7 separate regions of the Homo sapiens genome follow, and regions 1, 2, 3, 5, 6 and 7 are each linked to region 4. Evidence: promoter capture Hi-C in 16 types of primary human blood cells and fetal thymus (Javierre and others, 2016). All regions are on one chromosome and are shown on one strand. Each heading gives the region's core, a stretch centred on a gene start or on the middle of the fragment in contact. The rest is flanking DNA. Distances are from core to core; before and after follow the strand shown. Region 1 overlaps MEF2C (myocyte enhancer factor 2C). Region 2 overlaps MEF2C-AS1 (MEF2C antisense RNA 1). Region 3 overlaps MEF2C-AS2 (MEF2C antisense RNA 2). Region 4 holds the start of LYSMD3 (LysM domain containing 3). Region 5 overlaps MEF2C (myocyte enhancer factor 2C). Region 6 overlaps MEF2C (myocyte enhancer factor 2C). Region 7 holds the start of GSCAR (glioma stem cell association long noncoding RNA).

Evidence for each region. Contacts are between HindIII fragments. The CHiCAGO score rates a contact against its expected background, and 5 or more counts as called.
Region 1: a fragment that was not itself captured here is called in contact with the fragment with the promoter of LYSMD3 in region 4 in 3 of 17 cell types (total B cells, fetal thymus and erythroblasts); the score reaches 7.0 in total B cells.
Region 2: a contact is called between a fragment that was not itself captured here and the fragment with the promoter of LYSMD3 in region 4, in 1 of 17 cell types (total B cells). The highest score is 6.4, in total B cells.
Region 3: a fragment that was not itself captured here is called in contact with the fragment with the promoter of LYSMD3 in region 4 in 6 of 17 cell types (total CD4 T cells, naive CD8 T cells, naive B cells and 3 more); the score reaches 11.6 in total CD4 T cells.
Region 5: a fragment that was not itself captured here is called in contact with the fragment with the promoter of LYSMD3 in region 4 in 8 of 17 cell types (non-activated CD4 T cells, fetal thymus, total CD4 T cells and 5 more); the score reaches 15.1 in non-activated CD4 T cells.
Region 6: a fragment that was not itself captured here is called in contact with the fragment with the promoter of LYSMD3 in region 4 in 3 of 17 cell types (fetal thymus, naive B cells and erythroblasts); the score reaches 15.2 in fetal thymus.
Region 7: a fragment that was not itself captured here is called in contact with the fragment with the promoter of LYSMD3 in region 4 in 3 of 17 cell types (naive B cells, total B cells and fetal thymus); the score reaches 11.3 in naive B cells.

The regions. Positions count from the first base shown.
Region 1 is chr5:88,824,028-88,826,832 of GRCh38, forward strand. All of the region lies in intron 1 of MEF2C (myocyte enhancer factor 2C), which reads right to left. Among named protein-coding and RNA genes, the nearest start is that of MEF2C, 58 kb to the right of the region's middle. RefSeq lists a silencer at 865-1,159. The HindIII fragment of the contact is 1,015 bases long and covers 744-1,758 here.
Region 2 is chr5:88,898,228-88,900,946 of GRCh38, forward strand. The region is part of intron 1 of MEF2C-AS1 (MEF2C antisense RNA 1); the gene reads left to right. It also overlaps a transcript of MEF2C not described here. Among named protein-coding and RNA genes, the nearest start is that of MEF2C-AS1, 16 kb to the left of the region's middle. The HindIII fragment of the contact is 860 bases long and covers 891-1,750 here.
Region 3 is chr5:88,711,700-88,714,591 of GRCh38, forward strand. MEF2C-AS2 (MEF2C antisense RNA 2) reads left to right here. Exons shown (of 4, transcript NR_146284.1): 3 at 1,092-1,166. Among named protein-coding and RNA genes, the nearest start is that of GSCAR, 16 kb to the left of the region's middle. The HindIII fragment of the contact is 3,530 bases long and covers 1-2,892 here.
Region 4 is chr5:90,528,288-90,530,987 of GRCh38, forward strand. It overlaps LYSMD3 (LysM domain containing 3), which reads right to left and starts at 1,297. Exons shown (of 3, transcript NM_198273.2): 1 at 1,161-1,297. RefSeq lists enhancers at 568-1,068, 1,694-1,953 and a silencer at 1,334-1,583. The HindIII fragment of the contact is 4,420 bases long and covers 1-2,394 here.
Region 5 is chr5:88,737,746-88,740,445 of GRCh38, forward strand. All of the region lies in intron 6 of MEF2C (myocyte enhancer factor 2C), which reads right to left. Among named protein-coding and RNA genes, the nearest start is that of GSCAR, 42 kb to the left of the region's middle. The HindIII fragment of the contact is 2,662 bases long and covers 102-2,700 here.
Region 6 is chr5:88,878,168-88,880,927 of GRCh38, forward strand. All of the region lies in intron 1 of MEF2C (myocyte enhancer factor 2C), which reads right to left. Among named protein-coding and RNA genes, the nearest start is that of MEF2C, 3.6 kb to the right of the region's middle. The HindIII fragment of the contact is 1,158 bases long and covers 702-1,859 here.
Region 7 is chr5:88,694,662-88,697,546 of GRCh38, forward strand. All of the region lies in intron 1 of MEF2C-AS2 (MEF2C antisense RNA 2), which reads left to right. GSCAR (glioma stem cell association long noncoding RNA) reads right to left here and starts at 2,483. Exons shown (of 3, transcript XR_007058863.1): 1 at 1-2,483. RefSeq lists an enhancer at 1,273-2,252. The HindIII fragment of the contact is 933 bases long and covers 1,010-1,942 here.

The DNA of each region.
Region 1 (2,805 bases), core at 1-2,500, 1.7 Mb before region 4:
GCTAAAGCAATAAAATGAATAAAAATAACTTTTTTGTTAAAAATATATGGTATATCACAGACAGGAGCAGATCAAGTAGTTTTATTTTTTAACAATTAAAATGATCTCATAAGTAATTTAACAAGTCATTTAAATGATGCAAACTATGCTTTTTTAAAGACTAACACTTGAAATGTATTTTTTTTTGTAAAAAGTTTCCTAATCTTTTTAATGAAATTAGGTGACAATTTCACCCGTTATGAAAAATTACCTAAATCAGAGAGTTAATGAACCTTTATGTACCTGTGTATGCTAAGTAGGGCAGCTAATTCATTTCTGAAGGGAAAACAATCTCCTGTTTTGACAGCAGAGGTGATAACGTCCCTCGTTATGCAAATAGGATGGACGATTATGAAAGTGCTATTTGATATATGTAAATGTCAACTAATTTAAATCTAAATCCTTTAATCTTACTTTAAAAAAATTATTGCTGTGAGAACACCTTAAAAATAATATGGAATATTTAATCTTAGATTACAAGCATCTATCAGCAGTGAGATCTTTTCTTTTTGAAAGCCCTTAAACTACATCTTAGATAACAAGAATCAAAAAAGATAAGCATTGACACAAAATAAATGGTGCAAAATTAAGATTATTCTTCAATTTATAACCATATTTTTTATAACAAGCCATCCTTCCTTTAAATTTAAATATTTAGAAACAGACATATCATGTCTTTGTGGAGTAAGATACAAAATTGCAGAAGCTTCACATTACATACTGGAGATCTCTGGGTCAGGAATTAAAATTAGAGAAATGATCATCAATAACATGAGATAAGCCCAAGAAACCCAGAATATTAAAAGTACATACTTTACTTGGTTTTAAATTACATCTGAAAATATTTGAACACAACGGAAGTTAATTGCTCTGAAATGTGAAAGTTAACAAGAAAGCATTCCACAATGGGTTTTTCAAGCAACAGCTCCAATTATTCTACTTCGTTTTAGGTCAATGAATGCAACAACTTTACACACTGCTCAGAATTTCCCTGTTTATTTTAGCTGGTGTCTGACAACGGACCTGATAAATTCCCACATGTATTATGTAATGCTAAGCCAATGTCCTGGCTATTTAATAGATTGTTTGGCTCCAATTCAAAGTTCTTGGAACAGGAAGGCTGTTACACATTCGGTCTGACCATTAGCTGTCTTCTGATTTCTTTAATTTAATTTCCAAATTCTTTATCACCTTGGGTATTTTTTTTTTTTTTAGTTTTTGGTGATTATTTAATTGCAGAAGCTATTATGATATAATTACTTCTGGTGGATTAAGTGCTGCTTAAATACTAAGACTATCCATTCTCTTTTGCCTCACGCCTCTCTACTAAACTGCAGCTCAGTTCTGCCTCTCATAATATGTATGTTGAGTAACATTATGACCACACAGTGCTCATCAAAAACTATTGCTCCAGCTGTAATTTTAAATGTTGGAGGTGGTTCAAAATTCTAAAGAGTTATAGAAATAACACACATTTGACAAATACATATAAAAATAGTTATAACATATTGAAATCACATTAAAATATGAAAAACCCACAAAGCATAATTGCATCATATATTTGATGTTGCTAGACACTGTCCATCTATTTTTAGAAAACGTCTTAAATGTCACTCAATGGGGCAACTTTCCTGTGTTTCCTATAGTCTTACCTTAGAAGCAAGCAGTGTGTTAGAATGGTATTTCCCATGCACGTTTAAGACCCCAAAGATACAAACAAGCTTTCTCTATCACAGAAAGCCAATCCATGAATCCACAGCAAATGCATATAGGACAATTTCCTTTCCTTTCATTTAGCTGAGGCCGGTGGCACTATCGGCTTACAGGACTATGCCTGCCTAAGCGCTTATTCACTTCAAGGTGGAAGGTCAGGGTGAGCAGATTAGAGTGTGGTGATAAGGCAGAAGAGACAAGAACATCTACAGATCCTGATTTCAAAATACAAATAACCAAACAAGCAGCAAAACATCCTTGGAGAAAAGTCTCAGAAAGACAGAGAGAGTTCCTGATGAACCAAACTTAGGAGAGTTCCTCCATATCATCACCCCATATTTCACAACTTTGAATGAGACCATTTTTAAAAAGAGCAGAGCAAGGACTTAAAAAAAAATTTCTTAAAACATGCTGGAAAAAAATTTTGCCAAAGAGAATGTGTGTATGTATCTATGTATATATAAGTGGTTGATAAAAATGCCATTGAATATATTTTCTTTTTTGAAATATGCAAAGCAATGTAGAGAGAAGCAAGTTTAAATTTCAATAGAACTAAACTTTTGTTTTCTGTATAAATATTTCTTGAGGTATTGCCTTCAGAACATTTCTAAAATCCAAAATTTAGTATGAAGTACACGTGCAGAGTAATATGTGGTGATGATGACACTAAGTAACTGGTCATGAAGTAAAGTCTATCATGAAACGTGGTTTAGAACATTTGATTATGGGTCACCACATTTCAAGGCTGTCACTAAAAATTTAAAGAATTAGGAAGGTCAACAATAGCTCACGCATTGTTTTCTTAGCACAACATTTTCTCTAACCTAATTTTTATGCAAAAACTATATTAAAAGGTCAGTTTCAAGTATCAATTTGTAGGAGGCCTAGAGAGGCGAAGAAAGAGATTATTTAACTTTAGTAATCTGTAAAACTGTTTTGTGTGTATATGAAAAAGGAATATAACAGCTAGCCTACATGTAGTAAAATTTCAAGTTATGCTGAGAACTTTCATTACGTACAATCAACCATAAGCTTAAAATAATTCCAACAGCC
Region 2 (2,719 bases), core at 71-2,570, 1.6 Mb before region 4:
CACAAATATTCTGCCTGTTGAAATTAGAAAACCAGTTAAGCAATATGGAAACCTAATTATCTCAAATTTCTGTACAATTCTTCATCTTTACTTAATTGAGGGATAGCCATTATCTTTTCTTGGATGGAATCGGTTCATTGGGTCCTGATACCTCTGCAAAACCTGTAAAATGGGCTTCAGATCCAGGGACCTCTACCATTGGTGATAAGTGACTCCCAAACATTTTCATCCTTCAGTGACTGCCACCTGCTGTGAGCCTAGACTCCAGGAAAATAGGACTGGCACTGGTCATAGTCACTTGAGGAATGTGGCTTCTCTGTAAAGAGATTTTCAATCAATGCAGATGTTCCTTGTGACCTCAGTAATCACCTCCATCTGCCAAGCAGTCATAAAGGGCCTGCACATCTTTGCCAACCTTGTCAACAGAGTGATCCATATCTTAGGTCTTTAACCTCTTTTGTATTAAGATTTTTTAAAAAATACATTAATCATGTTTTAATTCTGTCCTCATGAACATAAAAATAGCAATAATAAATGATTATTACTATTGCAAAAGTATTGCTTTAGTTTACAAGTTTTCCTTAAAAATATTGAACTCCCCAGCTGTATTTATCCATTCTTTCATTCCATTTATTCATCATACATAACCTAAATACCTATATGTAGCAGACATATTGTACTAGGATTCAGATATTTTTAACACTGTTTCTTGTTCCAACATTTTCCTGACATAAATAAATATATTATCATGCTGGCTTACAGCATTGTGTGTGGAGAATATCTTTCTAAGTTTAAAAATTTTCCTGTCATTCTATAAAATTAAAAATATTAAATGACCATTCAGTACTTTTTTGTCAATTCAGCCTTATAGTGCATACTGAAAAGTTCAAAGCTTCGTGTCATAACATAATTTTGAGAATGAGACTTTTTGTATTATGTTACTAGGGTCCCCAAGTGGAAAAAATAAGGCCTGCTGCTCTGGAGTATATTGCAAAGTGATTTTGTTTTCCCCACTGACTTCACAGGCTAGATAGTGTGTCAGTTTTAATTACTTGGAATGCTTACATGGTGGGCTACTTATAGCAATAGGGATAGGGTGGGGCCCAGTCATTGCAGACAGGAACCCACCAATAATATTCCAGATTCCTTTTGAGACTTCCTCACATGAAACAGAGGAAATATCTTTCATTGGATAACTAAAACTTACTTTCCTATGATTTGTACAAAATGGCCAAAAAGGCCCATCCATTCATTAGCCTCACAGAGGTTAAGTGACTTGTTTCCAGTCACAAAATGACTTTGCAGTGAAACAGAGAGTCTAACTCAAATCTTCCTACTTCTGCTCTGGTGCTCTTTGAAGAACACTCTTTAACTCTAATGAGGAAGCCTCTATGATCCTTCAAAAGCAGATACCGGACAAGTCACTTATTTTCACTAAAACCCCTTTGGGATGCAGGGCAATGATTAAACTTGCCTATCTTTCAAATTGCTAGAAATGGATGCTATTTACTATTTTGCTTGCAATTGATTTGCATACTGTTATTACATATTGTTAAATGGTTTGTTGATTAATGACTAATGTTGATTTGGACTAAATGTAATGGAATAAGCAAATATATTTTCAAATTTAGATATACAATTTAGTTGCTAAATGGTGTTGTTAGTCATAAAAATGTTGATTATTTTAGATCAATCCCTTGCAGGGGAACCCTAGCCACAATTTCCCTCCATATTTTTTCTCAATATTTTAAGCTTTACCCCATCTCTTTTTCTTATTAATTTACATGTCTGGGTTTTAAAGCTAATACTTCTTATAAGCAAGTACTGTTCCAAAGCCCAGGACTAAAATAAATTCTTATAAATTCAGAATGTGGTAGATTTCAACTAAACAGTTTCTTTTCTGGAGATCCAGAAGACAAATATTTGGCTTGAATATTAATATTTTCATGACCTTGACCAGATCAATATATTGCACAAATATTATCAACAAATTATATAAATAGACCATATTTACTAATATAATTAATAATTTTGGAATTAATATAAGATAGTTATATATACACACACATAAGCTAGTCAGTTGTTAAGTCAGTTATATGAACTATATAATGTATTATGCACTTGATATATACATATACTTATGTGTTAGTATATTTTGTATTTTTAATTACTCCCAATCTTAAAAAAAACCCTATATTCCAACTTATATTTTTGATTTCTACATTTATCTTCTAAATATATGTATTACCTTTGATAATTTTTTTATTTCTGCTATTTCATATACATTCATAAATATTTCCAGTTTGGAAATCCATTTAAATGGTAAGACAAATAAAAAACTTTTGTACCATAGATGTTTTAGTACATTTATAGTCTTTGTATTTTTTAGAACTACATTTTAATATGCTGTGATAAAAATGTGTATTTCTCTAACAAGGTATTAAATTTGGTGACTGAAAAGGGTTCTTCAAAGGAATATAATTCACATTAATTTTCCATGTGATCATTGTTACTTATAGTTTACTAGTCAACATGCTTAAAGTCTAATTAGAAAAAAAATCCCTGGATATTAAGTTGGGAAACAGACCCAAGTCTGTATCTACATAAAGGTCACCACCTTGGTGACCTTTGGTAAATTTCATTTTTGTTCTTTGATTTCATTTTCTTTGAAAATGAGAAGCTGAAAGCTTTAAAGCTTTCTTCCCATAACTCCGAAATA
Region 3 (2,892 bases), core at 237-2,736, 1.8 Mb before region 4:
ACTGCTACTACTTTAGCATTTGTGTTAACTTGATCAGGATTGAGCTGGAATTTACTTCCCTTTATCTATGGTAATATAACAGCACAGCAAATGTTATAGTTGAGTATGTTCAAAGTATTTAAGAGAACTAATATTCTTTGAGTAGTTTATCTTGATTTGAATCAGGGCTCAATGGAAGCATAATGATTATCTGTATTGAAGCAGGCCCTCATATACTTCAACAGGAGATACCTTAGAGTAGTAACTCCTACTACTATTTCTTTTTCTTTTTCTTTTCTTTTCTTTTCTTTTTTTTTTTTTTTTTTTTTTTTTTTGAGACAGAGTCTCGCTCTATTGGCAGGCTGGAGTGCAGTGGCTTGATCTTGGCTCACTGCAGCCTCCACCTCCCGGATTCAAGCAATTCTCCTGCCTCAGGCTCCCGAGTAGCTGGGACTACAGGTGCGTGCCACCATGCCCAGCTAATTTTTGTATTTTTAGTAGAGATGGGGTTTCACCATGTTCGCCAGGATGGTCTCGATCTCTTGACCTCGTGATCCGCCCACCTCGACCTCCCAAAGTGCTGGGATTACATGCGTGAGCCACCGTGCTTGGCCTCCCTACTACTATTTCTTACATAATATTCTGAATTTGAGATTTATCTTCATATAAGTATTTTAAAATTCTGGTAAAATTTACACAGAGTGAAATACACAGATCTTAAATGTACACTAGGTCAATTTTAACAAATGATCCCAGTCAAGATATATAACTTTTCTGTCACTGAAGTAAGTCCCTTGGTGCCCCCTTCTAGTCAGTTCCCACCGCCACCAACAGGCAACTACTGTTCTCATTTCTATCAGCATAGATTAGTTTTGTCTGTTCTTGAACTGTATATAAATGCAATTATACAGTTTGTTCTCTTTTGTGCCCAGATTCTTTCATGCAGCATAATCCTCACATAAATTTTAATGAGTGAATTTTAATAATTGTTATCACAATTAGCACTGAAATTAGTTACATTCTGGTTTATCTAATAACTAGTCATACATAATTTTTAAAATACAGAAGTTCAATGTATCATGTCTCCTGTTTCTTGATTTTATATTTCATAGGAACTCTCTCTTCTATTCTCAGAGTCTACAAAATGCATTATTAAAAAGGCAGGAAGAAAACTGGGCTTTATCAAGGTAGGTGAGGAAGGGCTGTTGTGTATGTCTTTGTATTGTCAGTATATTTAAAGTGGACTCTGGAGAGGACACATTGGTTAGAAGACAAAAATCATTTTTCTGAGTTATTTCGTAGTTATTAAACTCAAAGGACAAATATCATTACTGGTTGGGGGATTCAGGAGAGAGATAGAAGAAACTATTATTCTGTCTCTCTCTCTCTTATAGCTACAGGGTCTTGCTGTGTCCCCCAGGCTGGAGTGCAATAGTGCAATCATAGCTCACTATAACCTTTAACTCCTGGGCTCCAGTGACCCTTTTGCCTCAGCCTCCAGAATAGCTATGACTATAGGTGTGCACCACCATGACAGGCTAATTTTTAAATTTTTTTGTAGGACAGGCATCTCACTATGTTGTTCAGGCTGGTCTTAAACTCCTGGGCTCAAGTGATCTGCTCACCTCAGCCTCCCAAACCATTGGGATTACAGGGTGTAAGCTATCACTTCTGGCCAGAAAGTATTATTCTTTATTTTTGAAAAAAAATTATTTCAATTGATAAATAACAATTGTACATGTTCATGAGGGAAAGCATTATTCTTTTATTGCCAGTAGAACTCTAAAGTAAAGAAAATGTTTTTTGATTTGCTCAAATAATCTTTTTCACATGCAAAGCACATAAACCAGGATAGTAAATGGGAAGAATGAAAAGATGGAAAATAGTGAAAAATATTATTTTCAGCCTCCCAAATCTTACTTGGAAATTTAGCTGATGAATTTGAAAGTACCAAAAAGTAACATAGTCTCCATGCAATTTCAGCTGATTGTTATGGACACAGGAGTTGGTAAGAATGACATGCTTTCTGTGTTCTAATACTATAGCTGGGTTGGTCATAGGGGAGCAGGTTACAATGGCAATGAGCAAGGAAGCAACGGAAATTCAGCCAAGATCTCTAGATTTATAGTCTTAATATTAGATGGCTGATAGGATAAACTGATTATTAACTAGGCAGAGTAAATTAAACCTTATAGGATGAATTCTAAATTAATATTTGTGATTTAATTATAGAAAACTGCTTGCTTAAGTAAGGCTCTTTGGCCAGTTAGTGTAGTCAATAGAGAAGCAAACTGCTAACCTTAAGGTTGTGGTCGTGTCATCCAGAACTGACAGCTGAGGCCATCTGTGCCTGGAGAATCCTAGAGGCGAGCCTATCAGTCCTGAGGTTTGCTCTACACACTGGCATTTTCTTTCCAAAGGCTGCTTCATTAGAGGAGAGTTCCCTGTAAATCTATTCAGTGTGTGGCATTTGCTTTTGGGGGGAAGCCTTTTTTTCAAACTAAAATCTTAAAAAAAATAAGTGGCATATCATATAGCTCAAAAATAAAAACAATATTTAAAAATATGTGTTGTTAAATCTTTCCTCTCATTCACCTCTTTCCCCAACCCCTTGCCATGTTAGTAACTACTTTCTTCATTTCTTTTTTTTTTTAAGTTTTTTATTTTTAATTTTTTTTAGATGGAGTCTCGCTCTGTCACCCAGGCTGGAGTGCGGTGGCATAATCTCGGCTCACTGCAACTTCTGCCTCCTGGGTTCAAGCAATTCTCCTGCCTCAGCCTCCCGAGTAGCTCAGATTACAGGCATGCCACCACACCAGCCAATTTTGTTTTTTTTTTATTTTTAGTGGAGACGGGGTTTCCCCATGTTGGCCAGGCTGGTCTCAAACTCCCGAGCTCAGGTGATCCACCTGC
Region 4 (2,700 bases), core at 47-2,546:
GCAATTTACACTTGGCTATACCGACCTACTTATGTGTCTTGTTAGACAGTTTCACCCTAATAATTTGTACTTAGAACTTCAAAATTGGCTTAGTAGTGCAGCTAACTGAAAATCACTAAGCAATGCCCCAAAGCCATTTTAGATACTTGTTTCTATCAACCTCTCTCCACGATATATTTCTAAATATAATTTAAAGGTCAGAACTTCACCTGTCTCACTATCTCTCCACTCCCCTTTATAATGAAATGCAGGCAGCTGACTATCGTGTTACAAATCTGGGTATTCTGAATGATCAAGAACTGGCTGTGTCTTCAACCGAAGTGAACAGACTGACCCAGGCGATCACTCCAGTCTACTACTCAGAGATTAGAAAATACATAATATTTAAGTCATCTGGCTCAATTCTATTCACCTCTCTTAATTCTCTTAGAGCAGGAAAAAGGCACGAACTCCCTTTCAGAAACTTGGAACAAGCCTGCGTGCTACCTAGATTACGAGGGGCCACAAAACAGTGTTAAAGCATTCTTCAGCTCAGTCTGTAACTGAAAACGGTTTCCCAAACACCTTCGTACTGTAGAATGGCTGCTGGGTGTTTCGCCTTGACCTTCTTTAACTAAGCAAGGTGCAATAAGAGGGTCACAGGGCACAAGTTAAAGCTGCAAAGGGACAGAATCAAAGGCACCCTATCCGCTGCCAGGGACAATTTTGTTTTTTAAAACTTAACTACCTCCTCCCTCTGTATTCCACACGTCAAGTTTTTCTTTCCCTGCTATCGTCAGCGAAGATTACGTCTCAGAGTCTTCTGTCACAGCATGACACTTGAACGATGTGACAAGATGCCGTCAGCGAATATTTCACGCCAACATAAAGTCGTGGGAGAAATGCTGTGTTTGGGTGGGAAATTAGCTGCCCAGGTAATCCAGCAGGTAGGCGTCCTTCCTCTGAGCCTCAGTTTCCCCGACAGTGTGACAAGAGGGCCTGGCAGGGCTGGTCTGGAAGTTCTTCCCTGTCTCGGGGGTGTCCGCCACACGGGCCGAGCCCGGCCCTGCAGCCCCCACCACACCTGTGGCCGAGGCTCAGCGCCTCCCGTGAGGACGCAGCTGGGGCTCAACCCCGCCCTCCTGGACCGGGCTACCCTCACCTCCTGCCACCATCTTTACCTGTCCCCGTTAGCAGGGAGCACTCTGCGAGAAGATGGCCAAAAGGTCCGCCGCCGCCGCTGTCCCGGGTAAGTTCATGGCCGAGCCTCTGCTTTGGGCTGACCCCGTCCGCCTCCGCCTCTGCCGCCAACGTCTCCGCCTTCCGGGCCGTACGCCGCCGCCACGTCCGCAAACCTGAGATGCGTCATCGCGTCAAGTGGGCGGAGGTGGGAAGGGGCGGGGGAGGACGCGGAGGGCAGCCCAAAACGGGGGAGTCCAACCACAGGTCCACGCCCGGCACGCAGGCGCAGGGACTCCTCCGGGGCCCGGGGGCGGGTCCAATCCCCGGGCCCGGGGGCGGGTCCAATCCCCAGCCCCGCCCTTGACTCCGCTCCTTCCGTGCCGCTTCACTCCCCGAGGAAAAGATTTGGTGGCCAAGTCAGCGGATCCAACCCGCGACCACCAGCGACCTACTGGCTGCGTCTTTGTCCAGCGTCCACACTGCGCTGGCAGAGACTGTCGGGTGCACCCTGAGGACGAGGCGTGGCTCAGGATGTGTCGGGGAGCTGTCTTGCATTTTTTTCTTGCTGTGCATCTCGAATTTTCTTTAGGGTGGGAAAGGACACCTCAAAAACACTGTTGACATCACGGTTTCAGAAAATTGCGCCATGTTTGTTACCCTTTTCATGCTGAAGACTCCAGACTGCTGCAGAAGAGGCAGAATTCTGGAGAGAAATCCTTGGGGGACCGAGGACGAGGGTTGGAGGGGGTTGTCTCACCCTTCCTGTTTTTAGGTGAGGGAAGTGAGCCACCTAGAGTCAGGCCCCAGGAAATGTTTTCCCTGGCTCGAGGAGTCAAGGGAGTCAACAAATTGTAATCTAACTTATTTTGGTTTGAAAATTAACTGAGTCATTGGTAGTCACCATTGGACTCTATGGAATATTAGCTTATTAAATAAACTCATGACTTCATACATGATTTTTATCACAAATGTGTTAAATGAGTATCATAATGTGTTTGAATTTATGTATGACTTTGGCAAAAGCCGCAACTACTTTTGCACCAACCTAATTAATGAATGTAAAGCATTTTAATGAGTCTGATGTCTCTCAGTGTTGATATTAGAGACGTTGCACTTTGACAACCATGCTAACTGTTACGACAATATCCATTTTAGGCACAAATAGCTGGGGTGCAGGGTGCAGAGCAGTGCTTTTCAGAATGTCTGAATATTTATACATTAGAAAGCCTTTGAAGCTTGGTTTTAAATTGTTTTTCAAAGAGTATGTTTTTGGTTTTCTGGTAAGTGCCTCTGCAAAGGTTAGGAGTTTTGCATTGCAATAGTTTTCTTTTATTAGCAGGGATAGGCACTGTGCTTCCCAGCGCCACAAAAAAAAACTGCAGGAGAAGACTTTTTTAAAAAGTTTGTCTGAATTGTTCTGTGTGTTGTTGCCCTCATGACACCCCTGTCTGTAACCATTTATCACTGAGACGTTCTCTCATCAGCAGACAAAGGATATATTCCCTGCTTGATATGTAGGACTTCGGCTGCTTAGCCCTC
Region 5 (2,700 bases), core at 183-2,682, 1.8 Mb before region 4:
TGGATCTTGAAGAGCAGAAAGTTTTCCGAAGTTGAAAAAGAAGGCTTGGCTAACATGAACCTCTAAGATTATGTTAACTTTACACTGTAGGCTTTATACTAAGCTTTTACCAAATTTTATACTCTAGAAAATGAGTGCCTAAGATAGCTTCTTAGTTGTTAGCTTTATTAAATTTGTGTTAGGAAAGGAACAATGATGGCAGTGGAAAGGAGAGACAAAAGGGGGTTGGACTGCTGTTAGAGAAGCTAGTTAGAACGCCTTGCTCTAGAATACATGAGAAATGATGTCTGAATGAGGCAGCGCAGAGAGAAAGGTTTACAGGCATCCAGGAGTTGGGGACAAAAAAAAGATAAGGCAGAGTAATCTAGGTTCTACTCAAAATGTTTCTGTTAAGAGTTCTCTCAACCCTACAGAGCCTTAGTTTTCTCAATAGAAGTATTTCCCTAGTGTGAGAGAAGCATGAAAGTAATCTGAATGAGAGGCTCTCAGGTACTCATCTGAGGCAGTCATTGACAATCTTACCATCCAACAATATTAGCAATCGCTAACACAGTGTATAGTATTATTTACCAACAACACAACATTAAGCATACACATTAACTGCTCAGAAGAGTACCAGGCACTTGTAACTGCTATGTAAGTGCTAGATATTGTACATGGATATAAAGCACTTTTAATCTTCACAAGAACAACCCTGTGGGATACTAATAGTATCCCTATGAAAAATGAGAAATGAGAAAACCGAAGAAAAGAGAGGTCCAGGAATTTGCTCAATGTCAAACAGCTATCAACTGGTGAAGCTATGATTTGAACCCAAGCAGTATGTCCAGAGTCCATGCCCTGAAGTACAACACTACACTGCTCCTTCAGAACCAGTCATGCTCTGAGATAGTGAAAGCCTTTCTATGTCGAGTCTCATTTGCAAATTATGGGGATACAAATGAAGAGAGGACACAACTAGGGACAGGACAGTCAAGGTTGTCCTAAGCCAGAGGTGATGTGCAAGTTTGAGGGACATGTTGTAAGGTCAACTTGGGCATAGTAAATAGTAGTTCTGGTTCAGAAGACACTGAATTCTCATAAAGAGGCACAGAATGGTGATGTTCAAACCATATTTCTGGTCTCTTTCTGGATAAATAAATATTTACAAGTAGGAAATACTGAGTTTAGCTACACTGAACACCAGAGTAGCTGTTTAACTTTTAGTGTGCTATTTTGAGTGGATGATTAAATATGCTTTTAAAAGTAGATTTTGTAATATTTTAGTCAATAATCTTCTCCCCTGTAATATACTTAAATGGTAATGATGCTTACTTACTTACTGTCAATTTAAGAGACCAGCTTCTATCAGAAACACCCAATGTTACAGTGAAATGTCCAGTATTTTTTAGTATCTGCGATTAGTTGTTACCCGGGAAATAACTTCTAATATATAAATGTATAAAAATAATTTTGTTTAGTAATTTGTTAATAGTATCTGATTTTGAGGGATTTGAAGCAAATTGACACAGGAAAACATTAAGCTGAACACACAGCTGGACCTCTGAAGTATCAATTTGCTGCTTTTACTTCAACAAAATGTTTTACTCACTTTAAAAAAAAAATAAAGCAATTTTGAAAACAGTTACAGCATACTGGGTTGTTAGACAGGAAATGTCACATACATAATAATGCTCACTATCATCAATTAATTTTATATTTTAGTTTTTAAAGTTTTAAGATTAAAAGTTAGTTTCCAATATCAGGATATTGTTTTGTGCCTCAAATGAACATACATCTTTTTATAGAAAATTACTTTAAATTGTGTATCATAAACTTGCTCATACAATCCCCTACTCTACTGGAAGTGACAGTTGAAAAAAAAATTAGTGGAAAAATATGATCTTCTAGACTGCAGTCCTAGCCTGAATGCCTGAAACCTTGTTACATATGCTAGGAACTGTGAGTTATTCAGCTGTTGTGTATCAAAATCAGTTTTGTTTTTATTTTTATTTTTTTGAGAAAAAAAGATATTTTACATTGAATAGCTCTAAGAGAAAAGGCAACCACAAAACATTCAGGGGTCAGAAATCTGGGTATGATGAAAATTTCAATATGCTTAATGTAGAAAGGGGGCAAATCAGATTTCTGATTCTTATCTTGCTAAAGACTCCTAATTAGGGATTCTTACACACAAAATAAAGGCTCCACTTTTTCTGGGGGTTTCTTAGGGAAATTATATAATAATGCATAATGTTAAACTATGAAGAAACTTCTCTGAAACCTCAGTGCATTTTGTGGTATATTCTTAGAGAAATACCCCAAGACTATACCAAAGCCAAGAACTATTCTTGGCCATACCAGTTCAGGGGCATCAGACGTTCTAAAAAGAGAGCTGTCTCTTCTCTTTGACCATGTCACCTGATGCTGGACCAGAGCTTCAGGAATTTCATATCTAGCCTATTTGTCCTTGACGTTTCTTGGGCTGTGTTTTGTTCAGCGATTTTGCGTGTGTGTGTGTGTGTGTGTGTGTGTGTGTGTGTGTGAAATTAACAGTCTGTCAATGAGACAATGAGCTTTTAACGTACAGCACATACTGTGTAAGCTCTGGATTGTGAGGGAGAGGTAAAGAAATTTTACTTATTACTAAGTTGTTTTTCCAAAGATTGAGAGTCCATCAAGTAGGTTTGTGTTGGCGAACATTTTCTCATTTGTCCTAAC
Region 6 (2,760 bases), core at 31-2,530, 1.7 Mb before region 4:
GACACATATACAGAATGAAGTTCAATCTAGTGTCTACACTTGGATGCTATAGAATGTTTGTGTTAGTAGAAGAAACTCATGAATGTTTTTGTGTACAGGTATGTTGTATGACACCTCAGGAAGAGGCCCATGAATGTTACAAGTTTTTGATGGCCTCCTTTCAATTTAAGACCCATTACAGGAATGACCCCTTTCTTTCATAAGTATATTGGATAAAAAACATTTAGAAACTTAGGAAGTAGAATCAGAGAGCTGTTTGAAATCACAAACATGCAAAAATATCACAGGTCTACGCTTACCATCCTAATGGCAGAAAACTCACACCAAAGTTGGCACCCACTAACTTCTACCTCATTAAGGCAAGCTGCTGGTCATTGGATATTGTGTTCTAACACGACTTCCCTTTATGTAGAATAATATGTTTCCTTCCAAGGAAAGTTTTTCTTTTGTTGTTATTTTCTAATAAATATACTCCATATTTATAGAAAATTTTGCATTTATCTTTGATTTTATCTTTTCTAAATAGTCTTTCTTTATTCCACTTTTACAAAGAAATTTTCAAGTGTAAAGACACAGCAGGAAAAAAAATTATATCTCTTTTAAGATATTTTAGTGTGTAAATGAAATGGATAGTCCTTGTGCAATTTATCAGGCATTTCAGAATGAACCCAACTGTATAATTCCCAGGCCTACAAAATGAAAGCTTTGTTATTTACCTATGTTTCTCACTTGAAATAAGAGTGAATATAAAGAGTGAATATATAACTGCAACTGAAGGTAATAAACTTGTTAAAACTTAGTAAGATATTGTGATGGTCAAAGAAAACCTGCAAGTGCGTGCCACAAATCCACTCAGATGAAACATCTCATTCACTAAAATTTTCTATCTTATTATAATAGTGCACAGAAAATTAAACACATAAATATTAATTTTATGTATCACAGATGATGTAGGCAATGAAAATGCAATGTTTACATTTATGGGTGACTCATTAGTGTTTTATTGTGTGAAACACTAGGAGGCATCAGTTGGGTAAAAAAGGACTTCAATTTTAGAAGAAGCAAAAAATTACTGTAAAGTTGGGTGTGTAAGAAGTTAAGATTTTCAAAATGTTATTATGTAAACCAAAACTTTATTCTCTGAAATAAACTCTCAAAACATCATATTCTGTTGTAAAGAATGATCTTTATATAACATTCATGAAATATATATATTATATATATATATAAAATTTGACCAATGAACTTTTATGAAGATATGTTTCACATATATGGATTCATAACTATGTAATTACACATTTTTATGTAGAATATATTTGGTAACAGAATAACATAATGGATATTGACTATTATGCATTTTCTGCTGAATTACTCAATAACATGAGTGTATGTTTTATTTCTGGCAAATTCTGTTTTGTGCTCTTTATAACGCCTCTGAAAATGTCTAATGCATTTAAGCCTTACAATACCTGCTTCATGTAAGCAGACAATTTAATGTTTGTTCATAAAGAAATGATGGAACTTAAAATTTACACAATGAAGACATACATAAAAAAGGACATGTTTTCTCTTACTTCACTACTGAAAGCCTGTCATTTGAAAACTGAATTTTCCATTGTTTGAATGGATCATAATGATGAAGCAACAGGGTCAAAGTATGCTTATCTAAGCAATCATTTGAAATTGAGTGTCTTGCCATTCCTCAACAATCAGCTTTTATCTTTGACCTATCAAAATAACATGTGAACTATGTAATCTGCCTTTTGTAACGTGCATAGACTCTGTTGTTCCTGGTTTTGTGAATCACCTCTGTAATCTGGTTTGATTTCCTAAAGGTGACAGATCTCGGTGAACAGTCAAGCTTTACTGAGTGCAAGACAGTCCACGCGCCTATAAGATTAAGGTACAGTGCTAAGGACGGGGATCTTAATTACCTGTCTTTCCACATGCAGCATACTGATGGAACAACAGTGATTAAATCATTTCATCGTGTCTAGGCAATCACCACATTAGTATAGAATGAATACGTGTATTTTGATAAGTTTTAGATATTAATTTGTGTGGTATTTTCTCAGAGGATGTGCTTTTGAAAAAAAAGTGTAACTTTATTAATAATCTCTTAACAGTTCATCTTGTGACCATTAATTGCATATTAAATTCTTCTATGTTGCTTCGAATCATGTCCCCAAAGCCAGAATTCTGTTTAATAACTATGTCTTTGTTGTTATGTAGCACAAGTATTGCTGCACAGCTATTTCCCCATTTTTGTCACTTTCTGAGATTTCATAGACTCAAATTATACCACACTTTAGAGTTGAGAAATAAAACCACAAAATATACTACAATAAACAGAAGAAAGTTTTAAAAGATAATGTTAAGATATGCTAAGGAGTTATTCAGTGCTGTTCTTTATAAAAGAAGTTTAAATAAAGTATTTATTAGAAAGATACGTTTGCAGTGTTATGGAATTTATTGATTCCGTTAAGTTAGGGCCAAGGAAAAAATTTCAGGTATCTTTTCCCCCAAATTTTTCAAAATGAACATGTTTACAAAGAAGAAAAGAGGCAAAGTGCCTCTTGTTATCTAAGTTTCATGGAGTTATCTAGTATTAATGTGCTTCTCTCTTGAAAAGTTAATATCTGTGATTGCACACTTTTAAAATATGAATAGCTCAGAAAAGGTGGAAAACTGTTTTTATTATAAATTGCTCATTTGTTATTGAAATAAAAAACAAATTAACATTTAATAAAACTTACACTT
Region 7 (2,885 bases), core at 226-2,725, 1.8 Mb before region 4:
ACCCTTGATGTCGCATTCCATCTTAAATGGCCACTATGATGATAATCTGAGCAGTAATATTAGTCGATTTTCCTGCTCTACAGTGCGGCTTGGAGAAGTCTTGGGAATCAAACGGCATGAACTTAGATTCCTGTTACACAACTTTTCAATGAGGGAGGAGGATATCGAATACCTCACTCAGTCTTCGGGAATGGAGCCTTCAAAAACACTTTTGTGAGGCCGGGCGCGGTGGCTCACGCATGTAATCCCAGCACTTTGGAAGGCCAAGGCGGGCGGATCACGAGGTCAGGAGTTCAAGCCTTGCCAACATGGTGAAACCCCGTCTCTACTAAAAATACACAAATTAGCTGGGCATGGTGGCGCGCGCCTGTAATCTCAGCTACTCGGGAGGCTGAGGCAGGAGAATCGCTTGAACCGGGACCCGGGAAGCAAAGGTTGCAGTGAGCGGAGATCGCGCCACTGCACTCCAGCCTGAGCTACAGAGCGAGACTCCGTCTCAAAAAAAAAAAAAAAAAAGAAAGAAAAAGAAAAAAGAAAAAAAAAAAAGAAAGAAAGAAAAGAAAGAAAAAACCCTTGTGAGCCGCCTAAAAACCGTCCTGTGAGCATCTCATCCCCACACTGGCGCTGCCACCCGCACGGACCTTCCAACTTCGCACTGTTCCATTTTCTCTATGTGCTTTTCAGCCCATCCTTGGAGTTGCTCTGTAAGAAGGACTTTCGGAGTGAAACTCCACAGTGCGGTTCAAAGACACGCTTAGGATGCCCCGGGATGGAGAGAGGACTGAGCTTGGACTGGAATTCCTGGAACAGACGAGGGCTTGTGAGCTTGTCCCAGGCACTGAGGACAGCATACTCTTCCCGACAAGGGCATCTGGGTCGAGAGAAGGTGGAGCGGGTCTTCGGCAAAGGCGAAACCCTGGAGAACGCTGCCCCACCCCACCCTGTAAGCGTGGACGAGTAATAATCTCCCGGCCTCAGTTTCCACCCTCTGCTTATATCAATTTTAAGAAGCTTTATTTTTTCTAAGATGATTTTCCCTACATATTTCTTGTCTCCCTCACTGCCATTCCCGCCCCTCCCCCCCAAAATACATTGTAAATCTTTTTCCTCCTACGGTTAATTTTAAAGAACCACAAAAGTTTGCATAAGACAGAATTTACCTGCCCATATATTTCTGTTGAAGGTGGAAAATTGTTTTTACGTGGCAAGTTTTATTTCTATTGATTTCTAAAAATTTTATCTGGAAAGAATTTGGCTCATGAGCTAAATAATATAGTTACCATTTGCTTAATAATTTTTAAGCTCTAGGCATTGAGGTAAATGCTTTATATATTTTTTCTTAGTCTGAGAACAACCATGTAAAATAGGGTTTTTCCTTCTGTTTTTCTTCCTCCCTCTCTTCTTTCCAATTTGAAAACTGAGGCAGAGACATTAAATGGCTTTCACAAAGGTATAGAGCTAGTAAGTAGCAGAGGCAGAGTCTGAACACAACTACCAACCGCTAAGTGGAAGCTCTTAGCAGAGGTCAGCCGAGTTTTCAAGTGAGGCTATAACTGCTGAAGAGTAGCCCTTCAACCTATGGTACTTGGTTGCCCATTATAAAGGAAAGCTGTGTAGTAATTTGACTTTTTATACCTTAAGAAATAATCACGGCAAAAAAAAACCCTAAAAATAATCTTTAGCTGTTAAGCAATCATCATATTGCTAGTTGTAGTGCTGTTATTCATATTTTGCAACTGTTTATATATTATGAGATAAAGCAAGTAAGTCATTATATTGGTGTCTTACAGAACTGAAATTTTTCATTATAAGTAAAAAGGAGATACAGGTGGAAGATTATTGAAATCAAATAAAAATCTTATAGCCCTGGAAAGAAAAAAAAAGGAAAGCTATGGTTAAGAAGCAAGAGTAGAAGCTGTGAGTAGTTACTACCAGTACAGAAAGCTTGAAACAGACTTGTATTCCCACCCCAATCAATGCTTCTCACAGGAGCACATTGAATCCTCTGTTATGTTAATTCTGGCAATCTCTATGTCTTCTGGGTCCTACCATCAAACCTCTGAAAGCAATTCAAATATTTTGCCACTCCCTTTGACCATTTATTTTTTAAATCTGAGATTAGAATTGTGGAACACATAGTGGATTGATATAAAGAGGAAAATCAAGCACCAGGAATAAAGATTATAAAAGAGTTAGCTCCTTGAAGGTTGTTGGTAATAGACCAATCATGCCAACATAAAAAAATTAAATACTACTTTAATGAAATTTCATACTTTTAATAAATTACTTTCATCTTGTTAGTTCTGATCTAGAATATCTTTGTATTTAACATAAATGAGATAAAATTATAAAGAGATTCATCCTCTATTTTCCATTATAACATGCATAAAGTAAGATTTCAAAAATTTAAATAAATGTGTCAGAATATTCATGGAAAGTATTCAGCTGTGAGATTATGTACTTATTTGAATAAAGTGTCTTTTTACAATATATTTGGATTCTTCTATTTCTCCACTTCCTCCTTTTTTCCTCCTCTCTCATCCTCATTTTTCTCCTCCTCATCCATTTTCCCTTTCTCTTCCTCCCATTCATTTTGTCATTGGAATCTATTTCTGAGACACATGAGAAAATGAACCTCATTAGTTTATTTTTTCCTTAAAATGGTATTTTTGAAAAAAAAAAGCAGAAGATGTCACCTTCAACTGAGGATGATATGCCAATTTGAATAGCATATCCTCTGACTGTTGCAGACATTCAGAACTATGTGTGCCATCCCAAAGAAGGTCTTCAATGGCAGCTATTTTTTAAAATGTTGTTTTACAGTCACATTCGATTTACTATTAGATTATCCTCGAATTAAAATAGCTGATACCATAATACTAAAT